Linked DNA regions of Homo sapiens: regions 1, 2, 3 and 5 are each linked to region 4. The links are contacts of gene promoters, found by promoter capture Hi-C in blood cells and fetal thymus (Javierre and others, 2016). All regions are on one chromosome and are shown on one strand. The core of a region is centred on a gene start or on the middle of the fragment in contact, and the rest is flanking DNA. Distances in the headings are between cores, read along the strand shown.

Evidence for each region. The method cuts DNA at HindIII sites, captures the fragments that hold promoters and counts their contacts. A CHiCAGO score of 5 or more calls a contact.
Region 1: the fragment with the promoter of DBT here is called in contact with the fragment with the promoter of FRRS1 in region 4 in 16 of 17 cell types (erythroblasts, monocytes, M0 macrophages and 13 more); the score reaches 31.7 in erythroblasts.
Region 2: a contact is called between the fragment with the promoter of RTCA here and the fragment with the promoter of FRRS1 in region 4, in 2 of 17 cell types (M0 macrophages and M2 macrophages). The highest score is 6.4, in M0 macrophages.
Region 3: a contact is called between a fragment that was not itself captured here and the fragment with the promoter of FRRS1 in region 4, in 1 of 17 cell types (erythroblasts). The highest score is 5.1, in erythroblasts.
Region 5: a fragment that was not itself captured here is called in contact with the fragment with the promoter of FRRS1 in region 4 in 1 of 17 cell types (megakaryocytes); the score reaches 5.3 in megakaryocytes.

What each region holds. Positions count from the first base shown.
Region 1 is chr1:100,248,519-100,251,218 of GRCh38, forward strand. DBT (dihydrolipoamide branched chain transacylase E2) reads right to left here and starts at 1,316. Exons shown (of 11, transcript NM_001918.5): 1 at 1,252-1,316. The coding sequence starts at 1,302. RefSeq lists enhancers at 485-1,044, 1,045-1,604, 1,206-1,325 and a silencer at 1,436-1,535. The HindIII fragment of the contact is 8,889 bases long and covers 1-2,700 here.
Region 2 is chr1:100,264,852-100,267,551 of GRCh38, forward strand. It overlaps RTCA (RNA 3'-terminal phosphate cyclase), which reads left to right and starts at 1,365. Exons shown (of 11, transcript NM_003729.4): 1 at 1,365-1,569; 2 at 1,673-1,773. The coding sequence starts at 1,525. It overlaps RTCA-AS1 (RTCA antisense RNA 1), which reads right to left and starts at 1,323. Exons shown (of 3, transcript NR_110435.1): 1 at 1,153-1,323; 2 at 978-1,066; 3 at 1-396. RefSeq lists enhancers at 1,056-1,605, 1,174-1,533. The HindIII fragment of the contact is 11,806 bases long and covers 1-2,700 here.
Region 3 is chr1:100,126,952-100,129,651 of GRCh38, forward strand. All of the region lies in intron 1 of SASS6 (SAS-6 centriolar assembly protein), which reads right to left. Among named protein-coding and RNA genes, the nearest start is that of SASS6, 4.6 kb to the right of the region's middle. The HindIII fragment of the contact is 790 bases long and covers 864-1,653 here.
Region 4 is chr1:99,765,202-99,767,901 of GRCh38, forward strand. It overlaps FRRS1 (ferric chelate reductase 1), which reads right to left and starts at 1,434. Exons shown (of 17, transcript NM_001361041.2): 1 at 1,406-1,434. The HindIII fragment of the contact is 6,315 bases long and covers 1,181-2,700 here.
Region 5 is chr1:100,065,020-100,067,719 of GRCh38, forward strand. All of the region lies in intron 5 of SLC71A1 (solute carrier family 71 member 1), which reads left to right. Among named protein-coding and RNA genes, the nearest start is that of SLC71A1, 28 kb to the left of the region's middle. The HindIII fragment of the contact is 158 bases long and covers 1,250-1,407 here.

The DNA of each region.
Region 1 (2,700 bases), core at 66-2,565, 480 kb after region 4:
TAAAGCCAAAGAGTGGATGGGATAACCCAGAAAGTGGGAAAAGTGCAGAGGGCCAAAGTCAGAGCCCTTTAGAAAAAGCAATATTTAAAAGGCGGGAAGGGAAACAGGATATTGGGATGAAGTGGCCAAAGATGAAGAAAGAATAATATTGGGAAACTGGTGTCACAGAAAACAAGAATGGAAAGCTCTAGAAAGAAGAGAGACCAATATGTGTTAAGTGTTGCTGAGAAGAGCTCTCTTCTCCTGGTTATCTCTTACTTATCCTTCTTACATCTCAAGTCATACAGTATCCTCTGGGAACTCCTCTGACCCCCAAGTCCACCATAGGTGTCCACTCCTGTGTGTTCCTGTAGTTCTAGGCACTTGTCCCATCACAGTACCTCTCATGCTGGGTTGTAATTTCTATCTGTCTCCCTCTCCTTTGTCCTCCACCACAAGGTTGTAATCTCTTGAGAAGGAAGATATGATGTCTATTTCATATTTGTATCTCCAGTGCCTAACACAGCACTGGTACATAGCAGGCTCTTGAAAGTTTTTGTAAGATCGGGGTCACCAAGGCAGGAGCATCTAGGGAAAGGGAGAAGAGGCAGGAAGAAGAAACACTAAGCAAATAGGGGTAACAAGTATCATTACCGGTATGTGTCAGTGCTTGGTGCTAAGACTGGGAGAAAGAGAAGGAAGTGCAGGGGAGATGGTGATGGGTCACAGCCTTGGTGACAAAAGGGTAGGAATGATATGTGGTGCGGACATAGAAGTACAAGGCAAAAGAGTGACGCCGAGCTGCTCAGTTCTTCGGAAGCAGGGACCCCTGCTGATATTCTATAACTTGAACGGCCTCTTCCTCTACACACTGTAGATTCCTTGAGGGTAGGGGTCGTGTTACCAGTGTTTGGCATACTGTGGGTACGCAATAAATGCTAAACGAATATATCTCTGGATCCACAGCGCCTATCACAATGCCTGGGCACCTGGAAGGCGCTCAATAAAACGCTAGCTGGGCCTCGGGGTACAGATGGAGCAGGACGGCTGAGTCGCTGCAGAAGCGCTTCCAGGTAAGGGGAGGGAGTGGGTTTCCACTCCAGACTGGTCGACTCGCTCCGTTCTCTGCCCTTTATTTTGCATGCATCCCTTCACCTCTCCATCACGCGTGCCCTGGACGCCTGGCACCGGAGGAGAAAGTAAAACACCACTCCTGGATGACTCCGGACAAATCACTCCTTCCCGGCCTCAGATCTGCCCAAACGTGCTTACCAGCTTCCCCGCATTCCTGCTCCAGGTTCTCAGCATACGGACTGCAGCCATCTTACCCCGGAAATGACAACAGTGCCGCAAACTGGAGAGACTCTCCTCGGCGCGGCCTATCAGGAGATGGGAAACGCGCCTCCCCCTGGGCGACCAATAGGGAGGGAAGAAACGAGCCTCCCACCCAACAGCCAACCAAGGAGTAGGGCGGAGCCTGAGCTAAACCCTAGGATCTGGGACCCAGCGGGGAGTGAAAAGAGCCTGGGGGACGGAGGCGGGGCAGAGGGCAGCCCAAATTTAACACTGCTGTGTAAATACAGATGCACCAAAGATAATCTTTTTAGTGTATGTGATGGGGAAAATAGAGAGTGTTAAGGAAACACAAAGAAAGGTACTTACCTCAAGAAAGTTATGTTGCAGTAGGACCTGAGCGATGAGTTGGAAAACATTTCCCCGTCTTCATCTTGTAGTGTAGCCGCCCCAAATACAGAAAATAGAATATTTCTATACGTTGTAGCAAGGCTCTGGACAACTAGTTGTTTCACAAGTCCATACAGCAGTACTTCCCAATGACTGCCTTTTTTACTCCCATTTATGTTTTTGATTACCAAAATTGGCTAATCAATTTTTTTCATGAAAGATGAACATTACCTAATGTCTAAAATAAACATGTTATCATCTTTCTTTTTACAGACTGCTATCAGATGCAGCTAACTAGCATATGCAATACATGTCACAGACACATGATCTTGATTTAGTTGTCTCTTAAAGAAATGTCAAATTCAGGTCAAGTGGAACTGGTAAAGAACAGATCAGAGCTTTCTTTTAAAAGGCAATCTTCCTCAGAGCAACTAGGAAACCAATTCCTGGAAATGTCCAGGATGACATTAGTCTGTTATTGCTTCTTACGTGGGAATGAAAATCTGCACAGATGTCTAAGGAATTACAGAGAAAAAAAACTGGAACAAATACATTTTAAATGCTCAACATTGAAGATTAGTGGTTATGAAACAAAATCTCAGGTATTTCACAACTTCATTGTTTAATATGACCCAAACACTTTTCCCCCTCATTTGCCATTTTATGTATTACACATCTACACACAAAAAATCAATGCAAACAATAAATCTTATTATCTTTTTTGTTTGTTTGTTTGTTTGGTAGAGATAGGGTCTCTTGGGCCAGGCGTGGTGGCTCCTGCCCATAATTCCAGCACTTTGGGAGGCTGAGGCAGGCAAATGGCTTGAGCTCAGAAGTTCAAGATGGGATCTCTCTATGTTGCCCAGGCTGGTCTCAAAGTCCTGGTCTCAAACTGCGATCTTCCCATTTCAGCCTCCCAAAGTCCTAGGATTACAGGCATGAGCCACTGGGTCCGGCCTAAATAGCTATCTTTCTCAGAAAATCTAGAGTAGTCAAAAGAATTTCAAGTTTTTACATTTCCTTAAAAATGTTTATAGA
Region 2 (2,700 bases), core at 115-2,614, 500 kb after region 4:
GTTCCCCCAATAAAGATGTCAGATAGGGGTACAGCTTTTTTATATTCCATCCCTACCATCATTGCCTTACTTCAACTTCTGATTATTTCTTGCTGGATAATTGTATCATTGGCATTTCTCCCTTCAGGCTCTTAAGCCTCTTATTCACCCTTCTCCTACTGCCAAAGCCTTCATTTTAAAATGCAAGTATCATTACTTCTCTGATTAATATCTTACGGCAAATTCCAGATTTGGTTAAGTACATAGTCTGTGTGTTCCCTAAAACATTCTCTGTCGCAAAGCAGCAGAGCGTTGGGATTACCAGACAGTGGTGTTCACATCAGACCACCCAGGTTCACATCTCAGTCTTCTAGTTAAAATTGTGTGACCTTGTAGCAAATTGTTTAACACAGGAAGCTGTAAAACAGTAAAAACAGTAAGTACTTTATCATGTTATGAATGCATGCAGTGCACAACACCTAAGTGCTCAATAAGTGTTGCCTGTTATTGTTACAGTATATTATTAATATATTGTAATTGTCCCCATAATAAACTCTAAATACAGTACATGTTAATTATTATTGAGGATGACATTGTAATTGATTACGTCTCAGTCTCTCCATTATACCTCCAATAACTTCGGGGGTAGAAGCTGAATTACTCTTTTTTGCTTCCCTAGAGGTTTACATATTATTTGGTACTCAATTATGTAGGAACTGAGCCACAGGCAGAACCAAGAAGCTGGCTATTGCTTCTGCCCTCGCCTGAGGTGAATTGTTAGCTGCACTGTTCCTGGGAGTCAAGAGCTTGCACTCACTCTCAAGCAAAATGGCATAACTTTGGCTTTTCAGAATATTAAACTAGTGATTCTGCCTTTCCCGCCTCTCAAATAAATGGTGTGTCACCCTAGAAAGAAAGATAACACACTCCGCATACACAAACACGCACACCGCAAGGAACCAAAGGCCAAGAGTATCAATGTACCAGGGCGCACACACTTCGAGAGACAGGTTCGGTGCATCGCAGGATCCCAATCTTTCTTGCATCTTCAGCTCTAAAAGTCGGCACCTCGGGGTATGCCAGGATCCTCGAGAAAACAGATATAAACACATATTTACCCACAAAACAGAGATAAAGCACAAGCCTGCGGGATAACTGGAGGAGTTATCTTACAGTTGAGACTTTCTGCAACCTGCAGATTTTGCCGTGCCCAGGGCACAAGTTTTTCAGGGCTCCTGGGCACCCCCGCGACCGTCATCTCACTTCCCCGGCAGCTTCCTCGCCCCGACCGCAGTGTTCCCAGCGCGGCTCCTTTAAGCCGAGCTACGCGCATGCGCACTGACTGCGGAACTGGGCGAACCCGGGGGTTCGTTTCTGCTGACTCCAGTGTCCCGAGAGGCGCCGCTTCTTCCGCTTTCTCGTCAGGCTCCTGCGCCCCAGGCATGAACCAAGGTTTCTGAACTACTGGGCGGGAGCCAACGTCTCTTCTTTCTCCCGCTCTGGCGGAGGCTTTGTCGCTGCGGGCTGGGCCCCAGGGTGTCCCCCATGGCGGGGCCGCGGGTGGAGGTCGATGGCAGCATCATGGAAGGGGTGAGTACAGAGCGAAGCGGCCGGGGCTGCAGCCTAACTAAGGAGGGGAGCTCTCACCACCGGTGTGCTTACTTCTCTTCTCCCTGTACCCCAACCTTTGCAGGGCGGCCAGATCCTGAGAGTCTCTACGGCCTTGAGCTGTCTCCTAGGCCTCCCCTTGCGGGTGCAGAAGATCCGAGCCGGCCGGAGCACGCCAGGCCTGAGGTAAATCTGGCTGGAGGGGGAGTTGGGCCGTGAAGCTGGGGGATCGGGGGGTCGGGCTGCCGGGCTGGGGCATCGGGAGTCCGAGTGGTGGAACCCAGAAGGTCCCAGACGCAGGTATGGGCGATCCAGGGCGGGGCACTCTGCCTGGGCGGTGGCCTGGGTTGTAAAGTCTTGAAAGCCTGGAGGGGTGAGTTTAGAAATGGTCTCGAGTTTTCTCTGTTTGACTAAATAGTGTCATTTGCTGAAGAGCTAGCTTTTAAAATGTTTTCTCACCTCACCGGGCATTCCAAATATCCGAACAGCACGTATGAGCTGGCAAGATAGATAGGGCAGAAATGCTTGTGACGCCAGAGGAAACCCTGTTTTATAACCAGTGCATTCTGGTTCTGCTGTCAGTTTTAGAATCATAAAACAGGAAAGAATCCTGAGATGTGTTATCCCAGCCTTCATTCATACCTCCAGAGAGCTGTTATGACCAGAATTATCTGTTGTGGAGAGGGAAACACCTTGACATTTGACCTTATTTCTTCTGTCTGGGTAGCTGGGCATGCCACTAGTTGAGCTTCAGGTACATGCACCTGCTAGAAGAGGACCCAGGTTTGAAGCCACACTGATTGCTTTGTATGTATTCTGTATTTATTACATTTTAATAAATCAGCGGTCTCAGTCTTTTGTCTACAGTTTTGAAATTACCAAAAGGCAATTACTGATATGTTAATGTTAATTGCCTTTGTCATAGTTTGCAGCCCTCCAGTTCACCAACAGGGGAATCCAATTCATTAGGCTGTAGGTGTTGTATTAGTTTGCTAGGGCTGCCATAACAAAATGCCACACACAGAGTGGAGCTTAAACAACAGAAATTTATTTCCTCACAGTTCTGGAGGCTGGAAGTCCAAGATCAAGGTCCTGACAAGGTTGGTTTCCTCT
Region 3 (2,700 bases), core at 9-2,508, 360 kb after region 4:
TCAACAAGTTTATTACACCTATTTTATCCTTGAGTAAAGTAACTTTAAGCCCTGAGAGGGAGAGACCACAGTGTTCCACATCCTATGCTGTATCTTAGAGAATCCAGAATTGGACAGAGGTATATAGGTGAAAGTGCTCATAAACATTAATCAAATAGAGCACAAATGCTTATATAATTCAGAAAATAAAGGGAGAAATTAGTAAAAAATACCTATGCACAAGTACTTCTCAAACTATTCTGCCAGAATTAAATAACAATGGCCTTTCTTTGATGTGCAGGTAGAAAAAAGTAAACTAACAAATAGAATTTGTTCAATTTTAAGTTTTTCTTCTAAGGACTTCTTTTAAACCTTTTCCACACTATTGCTTATCTACTACACAAGTAAAAAGTATAAACAGCAATTGAGTACTGATAGGAAAACTTGGAAACAGTTGATCAAGGCTAGATTCAATTGTTTAGATTTTTTAATGCTGACTTGTAATTTTATATGGGTTTAAAATGTGTCATTTTAGTTAAGTTTCTTGTTGAACATATGATTGGATGCTAAATCTCCGTTTGTACAATAAGGTTAAATGTTACCTCATAACTTGTATCTGTTTTCTGAAAAGGAACAAGAAGCACTGGTTTACACCAGAGAGAGGAAGAATTATTTTCAAAACAAGAGAATACACTGTTGCTATTTTTCTAGTATCTAAAGCAACATATGTGAAACAGATTAGAGTGTTACTCCAATTCCATTTAAGCTTTCCTGAGCTGGGCACAGTGCCTCCCACCTGTAGTGCTGGCTACTTCAGAGGCTGAGGCAGGAGGATAGCTTGAGCCCAGGGGTTCAAGTCCAGTCTGGGCAACACAGCAAGATTAAGCTTTCGTGGTGGGGTGGGGGAGGGGGGGACTCAGTTTCCGAACTTGTAAGATAAGTGGATTCAACTAGAAGGTTTGTGAAAACCTTTTTAGCTCTACATCATTATGTTTGGTTTTCATCTTCTGAAGTTTTCTCTAGTATAAATGCCATAGTGGTATGATACTGCAGTTGGTATTTAACTTTTTATGGTGCTTTACAGTTTATTTTTATTTTAATTATTTATTTATTTATTTATTTTTGAGACAGAGTTTCGCTCTGTCACCCAGTCTGGAGTGCAATGGTGCGATCTTGGCTCACTGCAACCTCCGCCTCCCAGGTTCAAACGATTCTCCTGCCTCAGTCTCCTGAGTAGCTGAGTTTACAGGGGCACAACACCACACCTGGCTAATTTTCGTATTTTTAGTAGAGATGGGGTTTCACCATGTTGGCCAGACTGGTCTCAAACTCCTGACCTCAAGTGATCTGCCCACCTCAGCCTCCCAAAGTGATAGCAGTACAGGCGTGGGCCACTGCACCTAGACGGTGTTTTACGGTTTTAAAAGTCCTGTCATACTTCATATATTTGCAAAAAGTACAAGAAGAATTCACTTATCAAAGTGTTCTTTACATAATCCTGGAAGAGTTATATTACTATGACAATTTACCAATCATATTAATGATATTGTTGCATATATTCCAAATGCCTATATACATTAGATGTTGAAAGAAAAAACGGAAGGCCTGTAAGTTAAACGAATTCCCCATGCTTAGTTAAAAAACATCCCTAGAAATATGCTGTAGAAAAATACAAGCTTTCAGAGGATACGCTAACTAAAATCACAAATCTTATTTTTTCCCTTATAATGGTTAATGTCATAAGAGCAATATAAAACAATAAAAACTCAATAAAATGTTATTTCTCATCTCAATAGATGTCGTACTCAATAGATGTCTAATACTAATGACATTAGATTTAGTTATGAGTTCTTCTAAATAAAAAGTATTCTAAACATCAGGCTTGCTTTAGCACAACTGGATTCTAGGCCATCTCTGACACCCAGTAGCTGTGCTCTTAAACTATCAATCAAACAAATAAAAGGTACTTTAAGCCAGGTATTGTGCCAGGTGCTAGGGATACAAACAGAAATAAACATGGTCCAGGGGCTTGGCACAGTGGCTCACATCTGTAATCCCAGCACTTTGGGAGGCTGAGGTGGGTGGATCACCTGAGGCCAAGAGTTCAAGACCAGCATGGGCAACATAGCAAAATCCTATCTCTACAAAAAATTTATAAAATGAGCCAGGCATGGTGGTGCATGCCTGTAGTTTCATGTACTCTGGAAGCTGAAGCAGGAGAGCTTAAGACCAAGAGTTTGAGATTACAGTAAGCCATGATTATGACACAACACTCTAGCCTGGGCAACAGAGTGACAGCCTCTCTCTAAAAAAAAAAAAATAATAATTTTTGAACATAGGATGACACAAACAAAACAAAACAAAAAAAACCATGGTCTCTGTCCTCAAATTGAGATGAGATTAATGACTTTTTGCTAGATTTGCTTCTGATTGCATTTTAGGGCTCCATGAGAGGGGAGGGAAGGGTTACCAACACTACTGAGTACCTGCCAGGTATTCTACATATATCATCTTATTTAACAATAATCTTGATAAGTAAATATTATTTATTTTACAAAAGAAGAACTTAAGGCCCAAATAATGGTTTAAGGTCACATTACAGAGCCCAAATGAAAACTCAGATCTTTCACCTACACCACACTATCTAATAACTGAATAATGGCAATTCATTTCAACTTAGGCAACTTTGAAGGGTCCTTATAGTGAAAGGATTTAAGACAT
Region 4 (2,700 bases), core at 184-2,683:
AACCATCTCTTAAAAGGTCTTTGTTTTCAATAAGCTGATAGATCAAATTAAGCCCCCAACTTCAGTTCTATCCCAGTATAATACTCAAATCTTACCACTTTTTTAAAAATACAGAAGTGGCTGGGCGCGGTGGCTCACGCCTGTAATCCCAGCACTTTGGGAGGCCGAGGCAGGCAGATGACCTGACGCTGGGAGTTCGAAACCAGACTGACCAACATGGAGAAACCCCGTTTCTACTAAAAATACAAAATTAGCCGGGTGTGGTGGTGCCTGCCTGTAATCCCAGCTACTCAGGAGGCTGAGGCAGGAGAATTGCTTGAACCCGGGAGGCAGAGGTTGCAGTGAGCCGAAATCCCGCCGTTGCACTCCAGCCTGGGCCACAAGAGCAACACTCCGTCTCGAAAATAATAAATAAATAGGCCAGACGCGGTGGCTCAAGCCTGTAATCCCAGCACTTTGGGAGGCGGAGGCGGGCATATCACGAGGTCAGGAGATAGAGACCATCCTTGCCAACACAGTGAAACCCCGTCTCTACTAAAAATACAAAAAATTAGCCGGGCGTGGTGGCGGGCGCCTGTAATCCCAGCAGTATACTCAGGAGGCTGAAGCAGAAGAATCGCTTGAACCCGGGAGGCGGAGCTTGCAGTGAGCCGAGATCGCGCCACTGCACTCCAGCCTGGCGGACAGAGCGAGACTCCGTCTCAAAAATAAATGAATAAATAAATAAATAAAAATAAAAAATAAAAATACAGAAGCAAATGAAAATATCTGAACTGAAAAGTTTAGCTATGTTAAGAAATATTCCTAATAACACATTTACAATTTGAAAAATCCCCTTTACCCTTTAGGGCAGTATGACAAGCACACACAAAAATAAGTGCAGTGATAACACCTTGCCACCCTGGAGTCTTTCTGAAATTTTAACGACACACCAGGGCTAGGGAGTGGGAGGGTAAGGGGACTAAAAGTTCTAGATAAAAAGCCACTTTAAAAACCAAATAAGGTTCTAAGTGACCCTGATATAGGTAACCATGCCACTAGCTTTAAATATAAAAAAAGAGTTCCTACAGTTTTAAATTTAAAATTAAAAACAAAAAAAAAACTCCTGCAAGAATAAAGTCAATGATTTTCAGGATCCCAAACACGTCTCTACTTATAACCACCCATATCTTGGAATTAAAGCTTGTTAGTCAAAGTCACAGGACATATTAACCTAACTCGTTAGTGAACACTCATTAGCTCAATTCAAGCTCCAGAACATAGTTTCGGAATACAGCACCCGTTCTGCCTGGCCGACTGCCCTGGTCAGCACAGGCACTCGCTCTCCAGTCTGTCGCTAAGCTGGATTTGATTTTTAACGCTTTACAAAGAGCTTTGACATTAAGGAAAAAGACGTGACACTTACCTTGAGAAGCGAAGGCAGCCTAACCAACTTCCGGTTTTGTTACAACTTGTATCACATTTCAGCAGCTGGGTGGAGCCAGTTAAGCCTTGAGCCAAAAGGGAACCTTTCCCAAACTAAGCTGCAGAACTTGATTTGCAAGACCAGTGCTAGTTTTAGGACTCCATTTCTGAAAACTTAGAATTCTGTTTTACACTAAGGAACAGTGTTTGCCAACTAGTACCTACTTCGCCACAAAAATTATAGTTTTTGTGTTTAATTGCAAAACTATTTGAAAATACCTGTTCTATAATAGTGCTAAGTAAAAGCAAATTAACTTTTAAAAAGTGGAAAAAGATCAGATTGCATAGAACCGAAACCTTTCTGCAGTGTGAATGATATAATGCAAAAGAAATCTTTTATTTTGCAAATTACCCCTGAAATTTAGGAGTTTTGTTTCTTTTTAAGCCTTTAATCTGTTTCACAAGACTCTTTTGCAAAAGAAAAATTTTAGGGCTAGGAAAAGACAATGTAATTGAATTTTTAACAATCTTTGTTTTTATTTTGTTTTTTGTTTTCCTGTTTTTTACTTTTTTTCTTCTCTTTAATGTAATTGAAAATATTAAACATTCCATTTCAGACCTTGAGTGACATTGTAATTGCCCAGTGGGTTCACCTTGCCCGCTGTCTAGACAGAGCCGATTTATCAAGACAGGGGAATCGCAATGGAGAAAGAGTAATTCACGCAGAGCTGGCTGTGCAGGAGACCGGAGTTTTTTGTTTTGTTTGTTTGTTTGTTTTGTTTTGTTTTGTTTTGAGACGGAGTCTCTGTCTGTGGCCCAGGCTGGAGTGCGGTGGCATGATCTCGGCTCACTGCAGCCTCCCCGTCCTAGGTTCAAGCGATTCTCCTGCCTCAGCCTCCCCAGTAGCTGGGACTACAGGCGCCCGCCACCACGCCCGGCTAATTTTTGTATTTTAGCAGAGACAGGGTTTCACCATGTTGGCCAGGCTAGTTTGGAACTCCTGACCTCAAGTGATTCCACCTGCCTCAGCCTCCCAAAGTGCTGAGATTACAGGCATAAGCCACCGCGCCCAGCCCGGAGTTCTATTATTACTCAACACAGTCTCCCCAGGATTCGGAGATCAGAATTTTTAAAGATAATTTGGCGGGTAGGGGCTTGGGAAGTGGGAGTGCTAATTGGTCAGATTGGAGATGGAATCATGGGGGGTCGACGTGAGGTTTTCTTGCTGTCTTCTGTTCCTGGGTGGGATGGCAGAACTGGGTGAGCCCAATTACCGGTCTGTGTGGCATCAGCTGA
Region 5 (2,700 bases), core at 79-2,578, 300 kb after region 4:
CCGAGTAGCTGGGACTACTAATTTTTGTATGTTTTGTAGTGATGGAGTTTCACCATGTTGCCCAGGATGGTCTCAAACTCTTAAACTCAAGTGATCTGCCTGTCTCAGCCTCCCAAAGTGCTGGAATTACAGGCATGAGACACTGCACCTGGCCAGTAGTTTTTTTTGATTGCTGTGTAGTGTATTCTTATCCATCAGTTGATGGACATTTGATTGATAGCTAGATGTTTGAAATTACTAGAATTTTATGTACTTGTTCAAATAATTGACCTTTGAAAATTGAATTGCTTGCCTTAAGCAATAGAGTTGCAAGTAAGCATTCTTGTGAAGTTTAAGTTCTCCATCCAAAAGTCAAAAATGGCATAGAAACAGAATAAAATTCCAACATTAATCTCTATGCTTTGAAAGAATATGGTCCTTTTCCTTTCCTTCCCTTCCCCTTTCCTTTCCTTTGCCCTTCTCTTCCCCCTCCCCTCCCCTCCCCTTTCCACTTTTCACTTTCACTTTCCCCTTTCCTTTTCGCTTTCACCTTTCTCCTTTCCTTTCCTTTTCTCTTTTCCCTTCCCTTCCCTTCCCTTCCCCTTTTCCCTTTCCTTTCCCCTCCCCTTTTCCCTTTCCCTTCTTTTTTCTTTTTCTTTCCTTTTCCTTTCCCTTCCCCTTTCCCCTTTTCCTTAAGCCTTTTCCCTAAGCCTTTTCCCTTTTTTAACCCTTTCCTTCCCCTTTTCTCTTCCCCTTTCCCCTTTTCCTTTCTCCTCCTCTCCTTTCCTTTCCTCTTCTCTTCTCTCCTCTCCTCTTCTTTCCCCTTTCTCCATTCCTTTTCCCTTTGCTTTCCTTTCCTCTTTCCTTTCCAGACAGGGTGTTGCCCAGACTGGACTCACTCTTGGGATCAAGTGATCTCCCACCTCAGCCTCCTGAGTAGCTGGGACTATAGGCAGGTGCCACCTCACCTGACTAAGAGTGCTATTTTTATGAAGTGTTTCCTGCTGTCACATCTGCTAATTTGTAGGCTGTTGTCCAGTAGGCTAGAAATGTCTGCGGTTAACAGGTTTGCTCTACTCGTGTCCTTTTCAACTTTAATCTTCATCTTCACCAGGCTTAAAAAAATAGACTTCCTCAGAGTTTTAGAGATGTTCTTAATTTATCTGTGATTTCATTCTTCCTAACCCTGCCAACTAAAAAGATTACCAAGCTCAGTTTTGTTCCAGGGCTTAACATATTATTCATGAGAACAGGAACCTCCAAGTCTTTAAGCTTTATTTCAGCTAGCCCTTCAGTATGTATCAAGATAAACGTTCATTTAATTTTAATATTGGAAAAGTCACAGTGAAATTGGATTTCCTTAGAGCAGTGGATTTTAGACTCCTTTCACAGAGAGCACTTAAGGGTTTATGGAGATGCCCTTAACCAAGCTTGTCCAACCCATGGTCCACAGGCTGCACACATGGCCCAACAGAAATTCATAAAGTTTCTTAAAACATTATGCAGTTTTTTTTTCTTTAAGCTCATCAGCTATTGTTAGTGTATTTTATGTGTGGCCCAAGACCGTTCTTCCAGCGTGGCCCAGGGAAGCCAAAAGATTAGACACCCCTCCCCTAAGGACCAGCATGACTGGCAGTCAAGGAGGGGTGTTTGTACAGTGCCCAGGCTCTCAACCCTTCCTCAACTAAAAGAGTTAAAAAATTTAAATAGGCCGGGCATGGTGGCTCACGCCTGTAATCCCAGCACTTTGGGAGGCCGAGGCGGGCGGATCACGAGGTCAGGAGATCGAGACCATCTTGGCTAACACGGTGAAACCCCATCTCTACTAAAAATACAAAAAATTAGCCGGGCGAGGTGGCGGGCGCCTGTAGTCCCAGCTATTCGGGAGGCTGAGGCAGGAGAATGGCGTAAACCCCGGGGGCGGAGCCTGCAGTGAGCCGAGATCGCGCCACTGCACTCCAGCCTGGGCGACAGAGCGAGACTCCGTCTCAAAAAAAAAAAAAAAAAAAAAAAAATTTAAATAGAGGCAGGGTCTTGCTGTGTTGCCCAGGCTGGTCACAAACTTCTGGCTTCACGCAGTCCTCCCACCTTGGCCTCCCCAAGTGCTGAGATTACAGGCATGAACCATCACACCCAGTCTTCTTAAAAAAATCTCTTTTACCTATGAATTTGCCAGTAGGATTTATTGGAACAGAGGGCTCCAAGGCTTAGAAAGTTTGAAGACAGTGTCCTGAGAGGCTATCATTTATTTTATTTTATTTTTGAGATGCGGTCTCACTCTGTCACCCTGGCTGGAGTGCAGTGGTGCTGTCATGGCTCACTGCAACCTCCGCCTTTCTGGCTCAAAGGAATTCTGCCACCTCAGCCTCTGAAGTAGCTGAGACTACAGGTGCACACCAGCATGCCCAGCTAATTTTTCTTTTTTCTTTTTTGATACAGACAGGGTTTCTCCATGTTGTCCAGGCTGTTTTTAAGGCAAGAATCTAATTCTTTACTTTTCCTGCCAAAGGAGAGAGTATAAGAAAAGTGGGGCCAGGCTTGGTGTCTCATACCTGTACTCCCAGCCCTTCGGGAGGCTGAGGTGGGAGGATCGCTTGAGCTCAGGAGTTCGAGACTAGCCTAGGCAACATAGCGTGACTTCCACCTCTATAAAAAATAAACAAAATTAGCTGGGCGTGGTGGTGTGTGCCTGTAGCCCCATCAGGAGATCTTCAGGCAGGA